3 separate regions of the Homo sapiens genome follow, and regions 1 and 2 are each linked to region 3. Evidence: promoter capture Hi-C in human tissues and cell types (Jung and others, 2019). All regions are on one chromosome and are shown on one strand. The core of a region is centred on a gene start or on the middle of the fragment in contact, and the rest is flanking DNA. Distances in the headings are between cores, read along the strand shown. Region 1 overlaps NPC1L1 (NPC1 like intracellular cholesterol transporter 1). Region 2 has its middle 40 kb from the start of RAMP3. Region 3 holds the start of PURB (purine rich element binding protein B).

Region 1 (4,445 bases), core at 754-3,253, 370 kb before region 3:
ATCCAAATAATTTGCTCACTACTCTCACACCGTTTACTGAAGGATCTACCCTTTCCTCTGATTTGAAATGTCTGCTGTCAAAAGCTATTTTGTTCCTCAAATCTATCTGTTTATTCTGCACCTGTGGAGTTTTTAACAGGGTGAATTGTGCGATTTCTCCTCAGCCTCTATTCCCTCGTAGCTGTCCCTTCACCAAACCTCCTGTCCATCATGGTCAGCCAGCAACCCTCCCAAAGGTGGGCTAATGATGCTGGCACATGGGGCTCTTATGAGGACCCAAAAGTAGATAGTAGGCTCCAGAAACGCCAGCTCCTTTCCACCCCTTTTTGCTTGTCTTCCCTTTACATGCTGACAGTCCCTCTGAGCCTCAAAGCAACAGCAGCCCCTCAGCCAAACAAGGGCTGGACCCAGCATGGGGCAGAAAGACTCGAGGGGATCTGGAATGTTCCTTGACATTTCCACCCACTGCCCTGGCCTGGGGCCCTCCTGGGAGCTGGTTGTTTGTACGGTGGGTTCTTCCCTCCTTGAATGCACCGTGGTTCTCCTGTAGCTCCTCCAGGTGTTGCCTACTTCACAGTCTCTTCCAGAAAAGGAGGGGCTGCACATCCTACTCCTGACTGACTCTCAGGCTCTGTGCCCTCCCAGTTTGAAGAGAAATTACTCCCACTCCTCAAAGGCCCTTGTAAGGCATGAGCACACAATGGCCTGGCTACTTTCTTGAAAAGAGGGAGGAGAAATAGAACAAAACACAGACTAGTATCTCCACAAATCACTCTCCCACACATGTATTATTTGTGTCATTCACAAAAATTATCTTAAACCGAGAGGAGGAAGCCAGGGTAGGACATGTGACATAAAACACCATTTCTGCCAACAAATGTTTATTAAACACCTATGTGCACAGCACAGAGCCAGGATCTTCATCTCCACTGCAGTTCATGCTTCTGGAGAGCTGTCCAAAAGCTCGGGTTGGGCTGGTTTGAGGCCTGGGATCCAGGCCCGAGGTGAAGATGGGAGGACCAGCCCAGCCCCAAGAGCTCCCAGCCTTCAGACTCCTGGGTGGCCTTGACTGGCAGCAACAGCCTTAATAAGTATTGGAGCTGGAGACCAAACCCAACACCATTTTCCAGGAGGGGCTAATCCATGACCAAGGTGCTTATGAGAGCATCCTTCCTGGGCCTTATGAGAGCATCCTTCCTGGGCCCTTCTCTTGCCAGAAAAGGCCGTGGATGGCAGACCTGCAGGTGCGCCCTGGAGGGAGTGGCTGCCGACCGGCCTCCCACAGCGTTGGCTCTTGGCCTGAGCCTTTGCCTCTCTCTGGCCTCCTGTGATATCACACCCAGGGTAGTGGTCATTGTCTGTGTTCTCAGGGACACTGCTACGTGTTAAAGACTTACTGACACAGAATTAAGACTTTCGAGAGAGGAACTGAGAAGGGAAAAGTTGGATGAGAAGTGGGCTCCTAGGAAAGTGAGTGAGTGTGGGACAAACATGGAGTGTGTCTGTTCCTGCCAACTTCCAGACCCAGGCCCAGGAGGAGGCACTGCCCAAGGCCTAGGTGACTTGGAAACTGGGGACCCACTATGGGAGCAGAGGAGCCATCAGTGGTGCTGCCTGGATACCTCAAGAGCAGGCCATCCTCCAGTGACAGGCAGTCTCATGGGAATGGCCTCCCCTAGGATTTGAGGAGGGCGTGTGTCAAGGGGCAGTCACAAGGAAGATCCCCATAACCCTTTGGTTCAGGGCCATAGAGCCTAGACAGGGCCTCTGGCTGTATCAGAACTGCCGCCCATTGTTGGGCAAGAAGTTGCTGATGGCACCAGCACCTTTGATAGAACCTTCAAAGCTGTGGTTGACATAGATGTTGTCAGCTGTGGAGACTCGGGAGGGGTGATTTGGGCAAGAGGCCACCATGACTGCTGCCACCGCCTCCTCAGCCCGCTTCTGCTCCAGTGCCAGAGCCGGGTTAACGTCAGGCCCTGCGGAGAGACAGAGAACCACAGTCAGAGAGGTGGGCAGGGGACACAGGTGAGAAGCTATTCCTGGTTCTGTACAACAAACCCAGGGCAGGAAGGGTCCCAGGGGGGATCTGTGCCATGTGCCTTCCAGGGTCACTATGTTCACAGCCCAAGCTTCAGGGATGTCCTGGTCCCTCCATCCCCCAAGCATTTTGGGAACCTCCAAGGAATAGCCACCACCTGCAGCTCCAAGGCCCTGGATATCCTTTGTCCAAGCACACCCCACGACTGCTCCTCCTTGCCCCTCTCTTATGTCTCATCCACCACCCCCAGCGCACACACTCTACTCCTTCCAAGAGGGTCAGGGAGTCCCCACAAGAGACATGGTTAGGAACCACAGAGCTGTGTGGGCTCCAACCCCTACTACCTTTGACCAAGTCTGTAACCTGGGGCAGGTGTCTCAGTTCCCTCATCTGTAAAATGGGAAGGATAATAATACCTGCCTCGGGGGTAGTAAGAGAATTACAGACACATATGTTGATGCACAAACACACCCCTCTATAAATGTCCTCTAATAATATTATTACCATCTGGTGGGAGGTAAAATTGAACTCCTCCCAGCTTGCCCACCCTGAGAGCCAGAAACACCTTCATCCTGGGAGGCTCAATTTGAGCTTCCATGTGCCTCAGCCTCCCAAAGTGCTAGGATTACAAACATGAGCCACCACTCCTGGCCAGCATTTCAAAATATTAATGAGACCGGGTGCGGTGGCCCACGCCTGTAATCCCTGCACTTTGGGAGGCCAAGGCAGATGGATCACCTGAGGCCACAGGAGTTCGAGACCAGCCTGACCAACATGGTGAAACCTGTCTCCAATAAAAATACAAAAATTAGCCAGGTATGGTGGCATACACCGATATCCCAGCTACTCGAGAGGCTGAGACAGGAGAATCGCTTGAACCCAGGAGGCAGAGGTTGCAGTGAGCTGAGATTGCGCCACTGCACTCCAGCCTGGGCAACAGAGAGAGACTCTGTCTAAAAATAATAAAAATAAAAATAATTAAAATAATTAAAAACAAATTAATGATAGGGCTGGGCACAGTGGCTCACGCCTGTAATCCCAGCACTTTGGGAGGCCTTGGCGGTTGGATCACCTGAGGTCAGGAGTTCGAGACCAGCCTGCCCAACATGGTGAAACCCCGTCTCTACTAAAAATAAAAAATAAATAAATAAATTGGCCAGGCGTGGTGGTGCGCACCTGTAATCCCAGCTACTTGGGAGGCTAAAGCAGGAGAATGGCTTGAACTTGGGAGGCAGAGGTTGCAGGGAGCTGAGATCATACCACTGCACTCCAGCCTGGGCAACAGAGCGAGACTCCATCTCAAAAAATAAAAATAAAATAATGTAAAGTAAAATAAAATAAATAACAAATTTAAAGTAAAATAAAAGCCAAGCGCAGTGGCTCACACCTGTAATCCTAGCACTGTGGAAGGCCATGGTGGATCACTTGAGCTCAGGAGTTTGAGACCAGCCTGGGCAACATAGGGAGACCCCATCTCTACAAAAAATAAAAAATTAGCTGGGCATGGTGGTGTGCACCTGTGGTCCCAGCTACTCGGGAGGCTGAGGTGGGAGGATCACTTGAGCCTGGGAAGTCAAGGTGGCAGTGAGCTGTGATCATGCTACTGCACTCCAGCCTGGGTGTCAGAGCAAGACCCTGTCTCCAAAAAATATTAATAATAATAATAGAATGGAACCAGCAATATCAGAATGCTTCACATGTATAAAGGAAGTATTAATATTATTTAGTGAAGCATTTGTTTTAGGCAGGCATGTCTATGTGTGCCCGTGCATGTCACCTCTCTGTGTAAAATATATTTCTTGCTGAAGGGCATGCTTAAAAGTCCAACAGCAGTGCAGTGAAGATCCACAGTGTACAGGGCCACAGAAACGTTGTTTGAGACATACATAGCTGACAAAAAAAGATGTTCACAGCACATTAAATGAATAATAGTAGCTTCCAAGACAGAATTGCCACATGGTCATAGTCCTGGCTTCTGACATCTGCCCATGGCTCGTTTGCACTTCCTGAGCTTTTGTGGTGAGCATGCACTGTTACTGTTGTCGTCAGCATAATCATGACAGTCTGGTAGGAACAGGCCTGGGCACTCACCCACGTAGCTGAGGATGACGGGCAGGAAGACCAAGCCATGCAGCAGGCCCAGCAGAGTGATCAGGAGGTTGAGGCGGAAGAAGAAGATCTGAATGAGCTGGGCCTTGGCGAGGCCCAGGACAAGGATGCCAGGCAGGTTGGTCATGGCCACACCTGCAAACACCTGGGGGGTTCAGAGCCAGGTGTCAGGCAGGGCACAGGGCATCAGGCAGGGCACAGGGCATCAGGCAGGGCACAGGGTGTCGAGTGGGGCACAGGGTGGCCCACTCCTCTCCACTCACCGCACTTCCCATAGAGATGGTGGCCTCTTTGG
Region 2 (4,347 bases), core at 139-2,638, 310 kb after region 3:
GCGGTATTTTCATACCATTTTTTGAATCATAATAAAAGTAGTCAGGGCATCTAGTTTTGAAGCTTCCGGAACCCATTTGTGCATTTGTAAGGGTCTTGAGAATTTTATAACAATGTTGAAGAATGTTTTATTGTGTTGCAGCTTTTCAGAAATGATTTTTTTTCTGGGACAAAGCTTGGTTTAGGAACAATGTTCCAGCAAGTCCTATTCAGCAGTAGTCATGGATCTAAGGTACCATTTATTGTAAAAAGTATTCAAGTACAAAAGGGACAAAAAGATGGTTTAAGGTTAGTTCTCTTAAATCATAAAGATGTCATCTTCTTGGCCCCTGGGTAAGGATGACCCAACAGGATTTACTGCTATCTCTGATGATCAGGTAATGTTGAACTTGTTGGGAGAATGCAGCGTTTCTGGGGGTTTTGTCTGTGAAGATGTTCTGCTGGAATTAAGCTCCTTGGTAAACAGCTCCAAATGGTGAAGCAGGGTCTGAAGGTCAGATCATGGCTTGAAGGTCAAGGTAGTGGTTTATCATATGCCAGCTGGTATCTGCCCTCAGCTGTATTATCTAAGAGTGTGAGAGGACTTTTCCTAAAAAGCCACTACCTCTTCATTGTCATTTATCCACCTGTCTACCATTTGCAAGTGGCTCACTTCCGGCAGGGGAAACAGTGATGTCCACTCATAACTGAACTGTGCTGTGGTAGGAACTAGGTGGAGGGGTGAGCAGGGCTGTATGACACAAGAGGACTTTCTCAGGCTGGCTTCTGTTCATTCTTGGGTTTCCATGTGGGTGGAACTGAGTCAGTTTCAATCACTGTGTTGGGTGATATTTACTGGGTGCCCACGTTGTGCTGATTCTGGGAGGACATCTCGGTTATTGTCATCGTGGTTATTGAGGCGCGGCTTTCCATGCAGGTTCCCTTCCTCTGAGGAGTTGGGCTTGCGTCCAGCTGGACCCATTAAAAGAATGTACATCCCTGTGAACTGGGTGCACAGTGAGGTCCTAAGGTGCATTCCTGTTCCTCTTGACATTGTAAATTCTTGGATACAGCTTCCAAGAAAAGGACCAATAGCAGGAGGGACCACACATTCTGGCTTGTAAAACAACAACAACAACAACAACAAAACAAAAAACTACAATCAACCTAAAATATTAAAAAAATGGAGGCCAGGTGCGGTGGCTCATGCCTGTAATCCCAGCAGTTTGGGAGGCTGACGCAGGTGGACCACCTGAGGTCAGGAGTTCGAGACCAGCCTGACCAATATGGTGAAACCCTGTCCCTACTAAAAATACAAAATTAGTTGGGTGTGGTGGTGCATGCCTGTAATCCCAGGTACTCGAGAGGCTGAGGCAGAATCGCGTGAGCCCAGAGGGTGGAGGTTGCAGTGAGCTGAGATTGCACCGTTGCACTCTAGCCTGGGCAACAAGAGCAAAACTGCATCTCAAAAAAGAAAAAAGAAAAAAGAAAAAAGAAAAAAAAAAAAAGAAATGGGGAAGGCTGTGGGGGGCTGGATGACCACGGCAGGGACTTGGCTTTGGTCTGAGTGGAGCTTAGTACATTCTTAAAAGCAAGTAACTACAGAACAAAACCACTAAATAAACTGAAGCCAGTACCACCAATGATGAGAGTGTTCCATGAGATCAGAATGATGAGTCCAGTTCTGGAGGTGTTATTGAACTGAACTGGGTCTGTTCACCCAGTGCAGTGAGGCCAAACTTTCACATCAAGGTTTGCAGTGGGAGAAAGGACGGTATTTGTTTTCAGGGTGCCCAGCAAAGAGAATCAGGCAGCTCATGTTTAAGACCTCACTTCCCCTGTCTGCAGGTTTCTTGGCATGAGGAGGGGGACTGTCCTCACCATGTGTGACTGTCTTGCACTGGCTGCAAGACATAAGCTTGACCAACTGTCTGGGATATGGCTCCCTGACTGACCAGCAATCTTGAACTGACTGTAGCTCCAGATCTATCCACTTGTAGCTGAGAGATGCAATATTTATAAAGAATTGCTAGAAGGCAACATCTATGCCTCTTGATATCCAAAGATCTACCTTCATTACGCCAGACCAGCAAGACTGTCTGGTATTATTAATAGCATCTCTGGGGCTGATTTGTGTTTTGGTATGAAGACATTTGCTTCTTTTTAGAGACATATAAGAAAGAGCCCTTGTTTACTTATTGCTATGTCTCTAGTAAGGATAAAGATATTGATTTTGATAATCACTCAACACCCTCTATCTAAAGATCTGTAGTCCCAGCACTTTGGGAGACCGAGGCAAGCAGATCACCTGAGGTCAGGAGTTTGAGACCAGCCTACCAGCCTGGCTAGCATGGTGAAACCCCATCTCTATTAAAAATACAAAAATTAGCTGGTCATGGTGGTACACCTGTAGTCCCGGCTACTTGGGAGGCTGAAGCAGGAGAATCTCTTGAATCTGGGAGGTGGAGGTTGCTGTGAACTGAGATTGCGCCACTGTACTCCATCCTGGGAGACAGAGTGAGACTCTGTCTCAAAAAAAAAGAAGAAGTAATAGTAGATCTGAATGGTGCCGGTATTAAAGAAATCGAATTAATAAAAAGTTTTCCTAGAAAGAAAACTCCAGAGCCAGATGGTTTCACTGGTAAATTCTGTCAAACATTTAAGAAAGAAATAACACCATTATTTAACTAATACAGCAGAAGAGGAAAGAATGTTTTTGTATCTTATTATTATTATTATTATTATTATTATTATTATTATTATTATTTTGGATGCTTTGTCATCCCAAAGTGCTGGGATTACAGGCATGAACCACTGTGGCCTGCCGAGGAATTTTTTTTAAATTCACTTTATGGGTCCAGCATAACTTTGATACCAAAACCTGACAAGGAAATTATAAGAAAAGAAAATTATAGACCAATATTTTTCATGAACATAGATGTGAAAGTCTTTAACAAAATATTAACAAATTGCATCTAGTAATATATAGGAAGGATAATACACCTTAACCAAGTGGGTTTGATCCCAGGAATGAAAAGTTGGTTTTATCTTAAAAGTCAATCAGTGTCAGTCACCACATTCAGAGAATTTCAGATAAATATCAGACAGATGTGGCAACTAAACTCAACATTCATTTATGATAAACTCTCAGCAAAGTAGAAACAGAAAGGAATGCCCTTATGGTTAACAGAAAAGGGAGTCGTCTTCATTGGGTTTTAGGGTAGGAGGCCTCGGGGTGAGACAGCCTGTAGGAACTAGTGGATGGCTGATTACTTGCAGGCCCATCCCCATGGTGGAGCTCTCCAGGATTGGGCAGCCACTCAAGGACCCTGGCTGTGGCCATGGCCCCCCCCCATTCCCTGGACTTGGCTTTGCATTCTCCAATCAGCTTGAGTTGGGAAGCGTTGGCTTGCACCTAGACTTTCCCTTAGGATGGGCTGCACTGGCCTGAGGTCTGGCATGACGGCCATTTGGCAGCCCCATTTGTCACTGTGAATAAACCCACTGGCCCTGGTTCAGGCACCTGTCTCTGTGGGCTGATCAAGTGTCTTCACCAGCTGACCTGGGCCCCAGTGATGTCAATGAGCATTCTACAAACCCACCCACCCACCCACCCACAAGTTGAGTCTTCACAGGTAGAAAAAATCCGGTTGTCTTTTTAGGGACTTCCTGCCCACTCCCCGCATACCACAAATGAAAACGTTCTGGGAGGTTTTCAGAGAGTGTCCCACCTGAGTGTAACTCAGATTCCACTTCCTAACTCATCTCCTGCTCTGAGATCTGCATCTTGTACGTATCTTTCACCTGCAACTGATGCTGGCTTCCTAAAACTCAAGTCTCAGAATGTCACAACCCTGTGTAGAGGTTCCCTCCGGCTCCTCAGTGGCCTCCAAAGAGAAGTCCATAGCCTGAGCATGGTCCAGAGTCCTCCATGACCTGCCCAGTCTTCCTCTCCACACCGCCCTGGCCAACTCCAGCCTTACGACCCTTCTCACCTCATACACTTGGGTGCTCTCTCATGCCTGGTCTCCACACATGGTATCTATTCCCCTCTCTTGTTTTAACTCCTCAAAGAGTCCCCCTCAAAGTGTCCCCTGTGCCCTCCATGGAGACCCCTCCTTCTTCTCAGGGCTCTCAGCTCCATCTCAACACATTCTGTCAGCCCTTGTAAGGACCTGTTGATAACATCTGTCATTCCCACTGATGGTCATAGCAGCCCGCGGTGAGCTCCTGGCATGCTGTGCAAACTTTCACTCCCTAAATCCTCACAGAACTTTAGAAGGTAGGTTTCTACTCTTACCTCCATTTCTATGATGAGGCTGCCATTTGCCCAAGGCCACTAAACTCTTAAGAGGCAAAGGCAGAGCCT
Region 3 (4,334 bases), core at 1,414-3,913:
GGGTGGGATTAACTTGATTAGTAAAAATCATTTCTACTGAAAATCCATTTAAAATATAGAAGAGGCGATCCTTGAAAACCCCAACTTTTATTCTTGAAAGACAGCTGGATTAACTGGCAAAAGCCAGTTTGTTGAAATTTCAAGATGGTATAAAAATGCTTCCAGGATATAGTCAGCATATTCACGTTCACTTCAGTTCCATTCACAGATGGATTTCAGCTTCCACCGGGTGCACTGCTTGAATCACTCATCCATCATTTGCCAACTCTGATTGTGAGGTACTGATACAATGGATCAAGTTCTTAAAAATTTTAAAAGAATAAATGATGCTGGAATTCTGGACCTGAGGATCTTTAGTATTTGAACAAATCCACAGATTAAACTGAAGGTAAATTAAGACTTCAGTTTTGGTTATTTCCAACTTTTCTGTGAGGATGTATATCCATTAAAGCTCAGGCTTATAGCCACACTGTTACTTTTGTAGGTAATCTTCAAGTTTTATGGTTTAAAATCCAGCCAACCAGTGGCTGTAACAGCCGAATTAGCCATAATTCACTGGCTCACACAGTGGAGATCTGGCTCTCATTCATACCAAAGCATTTCTTGGTAATGACCTCCATATTTAGAGATCAGGGGAACAACTTTAGTGAGCAGCAACCAATCCACTCAAACAGTCTGCCTTGTGCTTTATGCCTGACTTTTTCTTGTGCCTACCTCAGCAACCCCCAATGTAAAACTGCTTTTATCTTTGAAAATTTTTTGTCAACTTTGAAACTATTTTAGTAACGGATTCTACTCCAAGCATTGCTATCTGAATCCACTGGCATCCTGGAAAACAATTCTGCGAAGAAAAGACATTTGCCTTGGTCCAGGTTCCATGCAAAACCATTTTTTTAAAAAAATGGATCCAATTTGGTTCTGTATTCTTAGATGGCTTCTTGAAATCTTATCTTTAACCTGTTCATGATTATCCCAAGTTGCATTTCTTTTCGTGAACCTGAACCCTCAGAACTGGGTAATTGTAAAGGCCTCTCTTCTCAAGGATTCCATGAAGACCTAGATCCAAAATGCTGATTTCAATGGAGGTGAAGGGATAGACACCGCAACAGTGAGGCCTAGAGAGATCTTTTATGCCAGATTACCCAGGTGCAACCTAAATGCAACTGTTATCAATGGTCTGGGTAACTTGGACATGTTTCTTGCCCTGGATGTGCAAGGATCTATTCCCTCCAGGGATTATCCTGATGGGTTTACGAACCTCAGTTGAGAAACAACAGAAGCTGAGACAATTTTACGCAGGTGAGGAGATGCTGTTTTCCTCTTTGCAGGTTGCTGTCAGTTCCTTGGAACTTGACTGCTTTTCTCAAGTTGTCCGTCACTGTTCTCTTACGATTATTTCTCTTAACTGTGTTACGTTTTGTTTTTTCCCTCTGCGGCCTCCCTTGCTCCCTCTCCACTAGCTCACTGGGGATGAGCAGGAAAGGGAATTCTCTAGCCAAGGGGATGGTGGTTGGGTGGAGGCCTGTAGGGGAAGCTGCCCGTTTCAATCCTCATCCACCTCCTCACCCTCTGACTCTTCGCCGCCGCCGCTGCCCCCACCACGTCGCTCATAAAGCTTATCCCTCTGTCGTTCCTGGATTTCTTTCATCTCATCCGCATACCGGCAAAAGGCGCCTCCGAACTTGCCCCAGGCTTTGAAGGGTACGGTGATGGCATTGCGGTAGGACGGCTTCACCTCGCTCACTCGCAGAAACACCCCGTATTTGTTGCAGCCCACATCGAAGAAGAAGCGCTTGGAGTCCACGGTGATGGAGGTGCCCTCCGGGAGCTCTCCATACAGGCCGCCCCCTGGGCCCCCGGCGCCGCCTCCCGGGCCGCCTGCCAGCTCGTCGTCCTCGCCTCCGTAGTCGTCTATGAGCTTCGCCAGCGCGTCGCGGAACTCGATGAGGCCCTGCGCAGGCAGCGCGATGGTCTGGCCGCTCTGCAAGCCGCCCGGCCCGGGGCCCGCGCCGAAGCCGCCACCGCCGCGGTTGACCGTTTGGCGGATGCGCAGGAAGCGGCCGCGCTGGTTCTCCTTGAGGTCCAGGTAGTACTTGCGGTTCTCACGCACCAAGAATTCGCTCTTGAGCGCGCGCCGCGGCCCGCCGCCCTCCTCGGCGCCAGCCGCCAGCTGCTCGGGGCTGCTAGGGCCCAGCTGCGCGTAGTGTTCTATGAAGTCGCCCAGCGAGTCGCGGAACTCGGCGGCCACCGCCATGGACAGCGTGAGGCGGCTCTTGGAACCGCCCGCGCCCACCTCGGCGATCTTGAGGAAGCGGCCCTTGGCGTTCTGCTTCACATCTAAGTAGAAGCGCTTGTTCTGGATGTCCAGCCGCTTCGAGGCCAGCTCCTGCGTCTCTTGCTCGCCGCCGCCGCGGGACGCGGGCTGGAACCCGCACGGCCCACCGCCGCCGCCGCGCTCGCTGCCGCTGTCGCCGTCCGCCATCTTCTAGGCCGCCGCCTCGCCGCCACCGCCCGCCGCGCTCGCGCCCCCGCCCTCCGGCTCGCGCTCCGGGGCCCCCCAGCCTCGCCCGCCCGGCTCGCTCACGCGCTCCCGCCGCTCATCGCCGGCCGCCGCCGCCCCCCCATCGCCTCCGCGCCCCGCCCCCGCGACTTCCGTGCAGCCCTAGCCACTTCCGGCGCGCGATTTCCCGTGAAGTCACTCCGTCCCGCCCTCCGCGGCCTCGCGGCCGGAAGCGCCGCGGCGGCGTGGCGCAGAGGGGTGACGTCAGGGGCCGCGCCGGGCGGGCGGCAAGCTGAGAGTAGGCTAGTGTTACTGCTCGGTTTCTAGCCCTGGGGACTTGCCAGCCTTAGCGTGACTCAGCCGCCCGCTGCGTCTGTCTACGCGCCTCTTCCCGTGACACTTTTACTTTAGACTCCGGTGTCGTCCACTTCCCTCCTTCTCGCTTCCGGGGCGTTAGCTGAGCATACTCAGGCCCCAGCCTGCTCGCGCTGGTTGTGTGCTGGGAACAGAGTTCCAGTCTATACACTGGCGACCGGGGGGAGGGAGATCCTTTGGAGCACTCGGAAGCGGGTTCTGACCAGCCTGTGGGGTTCCCTAGAGGAGGCATGAGCTGACTCTGAAGGGCAAACTGCAGTTGGCCTGGCAACTCTGGAGAAGAGCCACCCAGCATAGGAGACGGCAGTGCAGAGGCACCCAGGGCCTGATGCTGGGAGCTCAGAGCAGCTGGGGGTGTGTATGCCTGAAGAATGGTCGTAGATGACACTGGAGGGTGGATTAGATCAAGGAAAGCCATTTGCAGTGCGGGAGAGTTAGTGCCTACCCCAGAGTCTGGAGCCACCGTATGTGATCAGGTTCACATTTTGGAAAGATCACTGTGGGAACAATATAGAAAGAAGATGATTTAGGATGAGGTTAGATTTGGGATCCAGAGATCAGTTAACTGTCCCCACAGTTAGCCATATTAAAGTGGTTAAGGAAATTGACTGCCAATCTTTAGTTTCTTTATCAATAAAATGAATAATTCCTATGAGGTCTTTTTGTTGTAAGCATTGAGGTGTAACAAGAGGCAGAATTGGAATAGTGTTAAAAAGTGTAGGCTCTGCAACTGCACTGGGTTTGAATCTGTGACCTTGACCAGTTACTTGATTTTCCAAAGCCAAAATGTCCTCATCCTTAAATTTTTTTTTTTTTTTTTTTGAGTCTTGCTCTGTCACCCAGGCTGGAGTGCAGTGGCGTGATTTTAGCTCATTACACCCTCCACCTCCCGGGTTCAAGCAATTCTCCTACCTCAGCCTCCTGAGTAGCTGGGATTACAGGCAACCGCCACCACACCCGGCTAATTTTTGTATTTTTAGTAGAGATGGGGTTCCACAATGTTGGCCAGGCTGGTCTTGAACTCCTGACCTCAGGTGATCTGCCCGCCTCAGCCTCCCAAAGTGCTGGGATTACAGATGTGAGCCACCACACCCAGCCTAAATGTAGTTATTCATAGATAGTGAATCCAACAATGGACTTGTAAAGAACACAAATAATAGATAACCCAATATAAAAGGTGAAAGATTTTAACAGACACTTCGTCAAAAAAGCCAGTAAGCACATGAAACAGTGCTCAACATTATTCATCATTAGGGAAATATAAATTAAAGTCAGAATGAAATACCAACTAGAATGGCTAAAATTAAAAAATGTAACATCAAGTGTTGAGAAGGATGTGAAGAAACTGGAACTCATACATTGCTAGTAAGGATATAAAATGGTATAAATGCTTTGGGAAACAGTTTGGCAGTTTCTTATATACCTTTCATAAAATAAGACCCAACATTTCCACTTTTTT

Evidence for each region. The method cuts DNA at HindIII sites, captures the fragments that hold promoters and counts their contacts. A contact is called where the count stands out against the background at its distance.
Region 1: a contact is called between a fragment that was not itself captured here and the fragment with the promoter of PURB in region 3, in 1 of the 25 tissues and cell types used here (spleen).
Region 2: a contact is called between a fragment that was not itself captured here and the fragment with the promoter of PURB in region 3, in 1 of the 25 tissues and cell types used here (heart left ventricle).

What each region holds. Positions count from the first base shown.
Region 1 is chr7:44,511,671-44,516,115 of GRCh38, forward strand. It overlaps NPC1L1 (NPC1 like intracellular cholesterol transporter 1), which reads right to left. Exons shown (of 19, transcript NM_001101648.2): 17 at 4,414-4,445; 18 at 4,133-4,295; 19 at 865-1,979. The coding sequence ends at 1,777. Among named protein-coding and RNA genes, the nearest start is that of NUDCD3, 23 kb to the left of the region's middle. The HindIII fragment of the contact is 7,316 bases long and covers 1-4,445 here.
Region 2 is chr7:45,195,791-45,200,137 of GRCh38, forward strand. No RefSeq gene overlaps it. Among named protein-coding and RNA genes, the nearest start is that of RAMP3, 40 kb to the left of the region's middle. The HindIII fragment of the contact is 6,228 bases long and covers 1-4,347 here.
Region 3 is chr7:44,882,867-44,887,200 of GRCh38, forward strand. It overlaps PURB (purine rich element binding protein B), which reads right to left and starts at 2,664. Exons shown (of 1, transcript NM_033224.5): 1 at 1-2,664. The coding sequence starts at 2,482. The coding sequence ends at 1,544. RefSeq lists enhancers at 1,736-2,695, 2,844-3,093 and silencers at 2,154-2,203, 2,494-2,853. The HindIII fragment of the contact is 10,196 bases long and covers 565-4,334 here.